Linked DNA regions of Homo sapiens: region 2 is linked to region 1. Evidence: promoter capture Hi-C in human tissues and cell types (Jung and others, 2019). All regions are on one chromosome and are shown on one strand. The core of a region is centred on a gene start or on the middle of the fragment in contact, and the rest is flanking DNA. Distances in the headings are between cores, read along the strand shown.

What was found. Contacts are between HindIII fragments. The study calls those that stand out against the background at their distance.
Region 2: a contact is called between the fragment with the promoter of FBXW12 here and a fragment that was not itself captured in region 1, in 1 of the 25 tissues and cell types used here (lymphoblastoid cells).

Annotation. Positions count from the first base shown.
Region 1 is chr3:48,718,242-48,721,929 of GRCh38, forward strand. No RefSeq gene overlaps it. Among named protein-coding and RNA genes, the nearest start is that of IP6K2, 2.9 kb to the left of the region's middle. The HindIII fragment of the contact is 8,187 bases long and covers 1-3,688 here.
Region 2 is chr3:48,369,898-48,373,468 of GRCh38, forward strand. FBXW12 (F-box and WD repeat domain containing 12) reads left to right here and starts at 2,322. Exons shown (of 11, transcript NM_207102.2): 1 at 2,322-2,423; 2 at 2,787-2,960; 3 at 3,411-3,448. The coding sequence starts at 2,871. The HindIII fragment of the contact is 16,322 bases long and covers 1-3,571 here.

The DNA of each region.
Region 1 (3,688 bases), core at 388-2,887:
TCTCTTTGTCTACACTCACTCTTCCAAAATCTTATCCAGGCTCATGACTTCAAATGCCACCTACATGTCAATCACTCCTAAAAGTGTTTGTCCAGTCCAGACCCTTCCTGAGTGGCAGATTCACTAGTCCCACTGTCAACTAGACATCTGCACTCTGACTTCCAGTTGCTGGCATCTCAAACGCAACTTGTGCTACCCTAACACTGGCTCATCCGCCAAACCTACTTCACCCCACTTTCCCCAAATTGAGTGATAGCATCTCAGCCCTTCTTATTGCTCAAGTCAAACACCTCAAAGTACCCCTTGACTACTCTCTTTCCCATCTATATTCAGTGCACCAGGAAGGTCTGCTGTCTCCATCAGCATCATCTACCCAGAATGAAATCACTTCTTGCCACCTCCATACCTTTCACTGAGTCCAAACTGCCACCATTTCTCTTGAGTGCAATGTCACAGCTGCCTCCTGGTCTCCTCTTGCTGCCCCTGATGCCTTCAGTCTGTTCTGCACACATCAGCCTGTGAATACATGAGTCAGATCCTCCCATTCCCTGCTCAGAACCCTGGAGTACTTCCTCCCCAAGGGAAAACCAGAGACATCAGGACCTTCATAATTCCCTATCACCCCCCCGACTGTATCTCCCCGGCCAGCTTTTGGCCTTGCTGCTCAATCTCCCAGTGTTCCTCACACATCACACCCCATGCACTCTCCTGCACAGTGTATGAGTTATGGTTGTTCCCATGCCTGGATTGCACAGATTTCCAAAGAGCTGCACCCCAGCTCTCAGAGCCCCTCATTTCAGACTGTAACCTGCCCCACTCTGCCCCCAGCACTCAGTACCACCTTTATCCCCTCATCCTGGCTCTATATGTTTCCATAGCAGTTACCACCTTCTCAGAATTTTTTTTTTTTGAGACATAATCTTGCTCTGTCACCCAGGCTGCAGTGCTATGACATTGCAACCTCCGCTTCCAGGGTTGAAGCGATTCTCATGCCTCAGCCTCCCAAGTAGCTGGGATTACAGGCGTGTGCCACCACACCCGGCTAATTTTTCTATTCTTCAATAGAGACGGGGTTTCACCATGTTATCCAGGCCAGGCTGGTCTCAAACTCTTGGCCTCAAGTGATACACACTCCTTGACCTCCCAAAGTGCTGGGATAACAGGCATTAGGCACCGTACCCGGCCGCTTCATAGCAGTTACCACCTTGGGGCCGCCCTAGCATTAATTCACTCTTCCATTCCTTTCACAAGTGCTTATCAAGGTCTGACTTAGATTAGACACCAGGGATGCAGCGTGAATAAACACAGCAAGAATTCAAATGATTTATTTGTCCGGAGGTGGGTGAGAGGCAACAGACAGTAAAAGAACAAATAACATAATTATAGGCAGAGTGACTACAATGGAGAAAAGGAACCAAGCAAAAGTGCAGAGTATGGTGTTTATGTCTAAGGCAGCAGGAGAGGTAGATCTGAGAAGGGAACATCTGAGCTAAGATCAGCCCAAAGGCACTGGCTGAGCATGGAAAGATCTAGAGGAAGCCATTTCTGACAAAAGCACAGCAAGTACAAAGACCCCGAGGAAAGAAGAAGTTTGATATTTTGAGGGAATATGAAAAAGCCACTTGGGTCTAATGGAAGAAATAGCTCAGAACTTAAGGGAAAGATGCACAGAGCTGAAAACGATGAAGGAATAGACCACAGATCTGGGGGGCAAGTCCAAGAATTCTGATGTGCAGACAGCAGGAGTCCTAAAAGGAGAAAAAGGGACAGCTGAAATGGAGGCACCAGCTAGTCAAACTACAGAAGAAAACTTTCATGACATGAAGAAAACTCTGTGTCAGCCGGGTGCAGTGGCTCACACTTGTAATCCCAGCACTTTGGGAGGCTGAGGCAGGCAGATCACTTGAGGTTAGGAGTTTGAAACCAGCCCGGCCACCATGATGAAACCCTGTCTCTACTAAAAAATACAAAAATCAGCCGGGCGTGGTGTAGTCCCAGCTACACCTGTAGTCCCAGGTGTAGCGTGGTGTAGTCTCAGTGCACCTGTAGTCCCAGCTATTCCGGAAGCTGAGACAGGAGAATCACTTGAACCCAGGAGATAGAGGTTGCAGTGAGCCAAGATCACGCTACTGCACTACAGCCTGGGTGACAGAGCAAGACTCCCTCTCAAAAAAAAAAAAGAAAGAGAAAAGAAAAAAGAAAAAGCTGTGTGTAGATGGGAGGGGTTGGCCACATTCCCAAGCAGGATGAAAGAGAAAGACTACAGTAAAATTCTTAAACTCCAAGGAGAAAGAGACCATTATACAAGCTTCTAGATAGATAAAACAAATTACATACCAAGGAAGAAGGGCCAGCTGGCCTCAAACTCTTACCCGTAACACAGGTGCACTATCTGCCCACCTAGACCCAGCTAAAGGACAGTTGTCATGCCTGGAGAGGAACAATAACCATAAATGGAATGAGGAAAAAATAGTAGAATGTCCAAATTACCAAGGGGAAACATTAAATGAATGACAGTTTAATCAAAGACAGCAAAGAGAAAGAGGAAAATATTAGGTTGACCCTGTGAAACTGCTAATATTTAACTGTTTAAACCTACAAAAACAGTAGTTTCATATAGGTCAACTAAATAAAAATATAAAACTACAAAGTAAAAAATAATAAACCTAGGCCAGGTGTGGTTGCACACGCCTGTGAGCCCAACACTTTGGGAGGCCGAGGCGGTCGGATCACGAGGTCAGGAGATCGAGACCATCCTGGCTAACACGGTGAAACCCGGTCTCTACTAAAAAAATACAAAAAAATTAGCTGGGCGTGGTGGCGGGCGCCTGTAGTCCCAGCTATTCAGGAGGCTGAGGCAGGAGAATGGTGTGAACCTGGGAGGCAGAGCTTGCAGTGAGCTGAGATCGTGCCACTGCACTCCAGCCTGGGCAACAGAGCGAGACTCCATCTCAAAATAATAACAATAATAATAATAATAATAATAAACCTAAATTATGGGGCTGGGCACTATGGCTGTCACCTTTAATCCCAGCTACTCTGGAGGCTGAGGCAGGAGGATCACTTGAGCCCAGGACCTGAAGTCCAGCCTGGGCAACATAGCGAGATCCTGTGTCTTTAAAAAAAAAAAAGGAATTTATGGAATGAGCAAAACTAAACATCTTTATCACAGTAAATAAATCCTGAACTCCCTTTAAAGGCATAGAGACTGGATTAGAGAGACAAAACCCAGCCACATGCTATTTATAGGATATTTGAGACCACACAAACAGAAAAGGCTGAAAAATAAAGGAGTGGGCAGAGAGATCAGGCCAGCACAAACTAGAAGAGAACAGGAGTACATGACATGAGAAAAGGTAGGATTTAAGGTGATAGGCATTGAGCAAAATAAACAGGGCCACTGTCTAACATAGAAACAGACAATTTATGAAACAGACATGGCCAGGCACTGTGGCTCACACCTGTAATCCCACCATTTTGAGAGGCCAAGGTGGGCAGATCACTTGAGACCAGGAGTTCAAGACAAGCCTGGCCAACATGGTGAAAGCCCATCTCTACCAAAAATACAAAATTAGCCGAGCGTGGTGGTGCATGCCTATAGTCCTAGCTACTTGGGTGGCTGAGGCACGAGAATTACTTGAACCCAGGAGGTGGAGGTTGCAGTGAGCTGAGATCACACCACTGCACT
Region 2 (3,571 bases), core at 1,072-3,571, 350 kb before region 1:
AGTCAGGAGGCAGAAGGGGCGGGGCAGCATAGGCCTGAGCCTTTATTGTGTTTTCTGTAAGAAACGAAGAGGGCAGAACAGGGTAAGCCTTTTAGAATGGGCTAGTTTAAATGGTTCTGGCTGGCTTTGAGGCATAGGGGCCGTCTCCAGTTGTCTGGTACCTGGCCCTGGGTTGATTTAGGGCAGGAGGAATATTAACTTGCTGTGTGAGAGTTTGGTAAAGGAGATGATTGTGGGTGTGGGCTGTAGCTTGGTTCGTTTGCATAAAAGGCACTCTCCTTTGCTATCTGGCTAGGCCTGGGAAGGAGAGTCTCTCCCCAGTCAGCAAGATCACAAATGCCAGAGCATCAAGAATACAGAAAATTAAAAATATACAGAGAATACAACTGGCCCTGTGATGGATGCCAGACAAATTCAGAATCTAAGAGAACACGGAGCACCCTGGCAAGGTGGCCAGTAATAGGACTTACCTCATCTAGCCGTTGTGAGGATTAAATAGATGAGCCCCTGTAAATTGTTTAGACGGGTGCCTTGCCTGCAGAAGGCGCCATGAAAGGTGTGCTGTTACTTCTCCCCTTGCTACGCCCCCTTTACTTCCCATGCTGTGTCGTCCCTCCCTCTCTGTCCTACTCTCAGGCTGCCCAACTCCTTATGGATCCCTCTTCTCAGGTTTCCCCAGCTGCCTGCTTTAATCTACTTTCTCCTAGACAATGTCCGGACCATTCTCTCACCTGCATCTTATCTTTTGCTTAGACTATTACGCAGTTACCATTTCACATCTCTCAAATTTTACATCTCTTAACTCTTGTGACATTTAGATTTGTCTTCATCTATTGTTGCAATGTGTCTTTCTCTGCCGCTTTTCTGGTAGCACCCCGCCACCACCACCCCCCAACACACCTTCCTGTTCCTCTATTTTTTTTGTTGTTGTTGTTGAGATGGAGTCTCGCACTGTCGCCCAGGCTGGAGTGCAGTAGCGCAATCTCAGCTCACTGCAACCTCCACCTCCCAGCTTCAAGCAATTCTCCTGCCTCAGCCTCCCAAGTAGCTGGGATTACAGGCACCCGCCACCACGCCCAGCTAATTTGTTGTATTTTTAGTAGAGACAGGGTTTCACTATGTTGGCCAAGCTGGTCTCAAACTCCTGACCTGGTGATCCACCCGCCTCGGCCTCCCCAAGTGCTGGGATTACGGGCATGAGCCACTGTGCCTGGCCTCTGTTCCTCTATTTCAAATTCATTCATTCACTCATTCGGCAATTTGCTTCAGTTTCCTTATGTTTGCCTCTTTCTCATCTGTCCTCTTTTCCATTTTATTCCTACTCTGTCTCAGTCCACTTACAGTTATATTTCCTATCTGTGTATTTTATAATATTTGTGCTTTAATACTTTTAAAATATCCTTTATTTTACTGTTTCTTCTCTTCCCTTGTCATATTTTAAAGTGTTTTATTTCTCAGCCTTCTATATCTTTGCATTAATTCTGTTCCTCTACAATAGAGTCCGTTCCAAGCTTTCTGTCTTCCTGTGTCCTTCCACGGCTCTGGCTCTCTCTGCATTATTTCCTATTTATGGAATACAAATCTTTTACCCTTGTATTTTTCTCACTCCTCTCCACACACCCCTTGACTCGCCTTTCCCCACGCCCCTCTAGGTGCTTCTTGGTCTTTGCTTTTCCTTTTTATTTCCTCACCATGTCAATTTGTATTTTTCCTCTCTCTTACTACTGTATCATAAATGGGACTCCCGACAACCACTCCCGTGTGTCTGCCTGGAGGCAGCAGTTTTAAGAAGGGTTGGCCACTGAGCCTCACAGAGGGACCCCTGTCTTATGCTGCAGCAAAGTACCATAGACTGGGTGGCTTACAAACAAATTTATTTCTCACAATTTTGGAGGAGAGAAGTCCAAGAGTCACCTGTCAGCACGGTCAGGTTCTGGTGTGGGCCTTCTTCCAGGTTGCAGCTGACACCTTCTCATGTCCTCGCATGATATGAACAGGGCTAGAGAGCGTTCTGGGGTCTCTTTTATAAGGTCACTGGTCCCATCATAAGGACTCTGCCTGTGACCCACTTACCTCCCAAAGGCCCCCCACCTCCAATCACACCAAGGGTTAGAATTTCAACGTAGGAATTTTGAGAGGACACAAACACCCAGGCTATGACACGGTCTTTAGAAAATCCCAGAATGAGTTGTCAGGTTCTTGGGAGATCTGTAACTGTGGGAAAGCGTCACATCCCAGGGAAAGCCACCAGCTGGGAGAGCCATCCCAGACAAGGCCTGCTCCCTTTGGGCGGACCTCTGTGGAGAAGCCAGCTTGGCACGTTCTTTCTCCTCCACTGCAAAGTTAAATGCGAGAAGGTAGAAACCCAGAGGCCATGCTGGCGCTGAGAGATGAGCCCCACTCACCAGATTCAAGATCCCAAGGTAGGCACAGACACAGGGCAAGCAGACTCCAATTCCAGGAGTTTGGAACTTAAATAGAGTCATAGAGACACTCAGATCTGATCAAAGTGAGTGCACTCGGTGACATTTCCTAAAGGGTTCTGACAACTTCATCTGCAACTGGGGCTGCCCCAGGTTCTGCACCTCCAGCTCACAGCGCACAGGTGTTGCTGAGCTCCTCTAAACAATGAACAGCACTAACAAGTGGGTTTAGGTAGGGATGCCTGCCAGCTGTGTGGATCAGGCCCCAGGGGAGAGGCCGGGGTGGAGGTCAGCCCGGGAGTCTGCACACCTGCAGCTTGTTTCTACCGCACACAGATGGGCATGGGTGAAAATCTTTACAAGTGCTGCAGACTTTGGCAAAGCCTATAAATTCAGAGCAGCCCGGAGAGGAGAAAGGAAAGTGGATGTGGGTTCAGGCCGCATGAAATGGAGATCCGATTGCCTGACTTAGCTTTGAAGCGAATCTTCTCTTTCCTGGACCTGTTCGGCTTGCTGCAGGTTTCCCAGGTGAACAAGGTAAAGGCCTTCCACCTCCCACTGCCCCCCAAGCCCGCTGCTTCTCTCGACCAGTTTGAGCACCACTTTGCAGAATAGCAGAGGGTTACACTGAGGCTTTGGGGGTTAGCATTCTTCATACTGAGGGCCTCATATTCTGTTAAACGAAAAGGACAAGCTGATATCCAGGAGTTGTGCTGACTAAACAGTCCTTGAGGCTCCCATTTCAAGCCCTAGGAAATCAACACTTCTTCCTGTGAATTCATGGGAATACCCAGTGCCTGTATTAGCAGTGATAGGTCTCTGTTGTTACCATTTCCTTATCTCCCCACACTGAGAGTGCTTTGAGAGCTGGAATCCCATCTGATTAACCTGTGCGGGCCCAGCTCCCAGAACAAATAATAGCAGAGGATTACCCTTGCTCTCTGATGTAACTGATTGCCTGCTTGTCTCTTCCTTTCTCTCCCATAGCATTGGAATAGGATTGCAGACAGTGATTACCTGTGGAGGTAAGGGAAGGGAAAGGGCAAGGAGGGAAGGGGAGAGGAGATCATCTGACTGCGCACCCATGCTGTGTCCCAAGGCCTGTGTGGCTGTGTTGTGAGATATACACAGGAAAGTTAGTGTGAGTA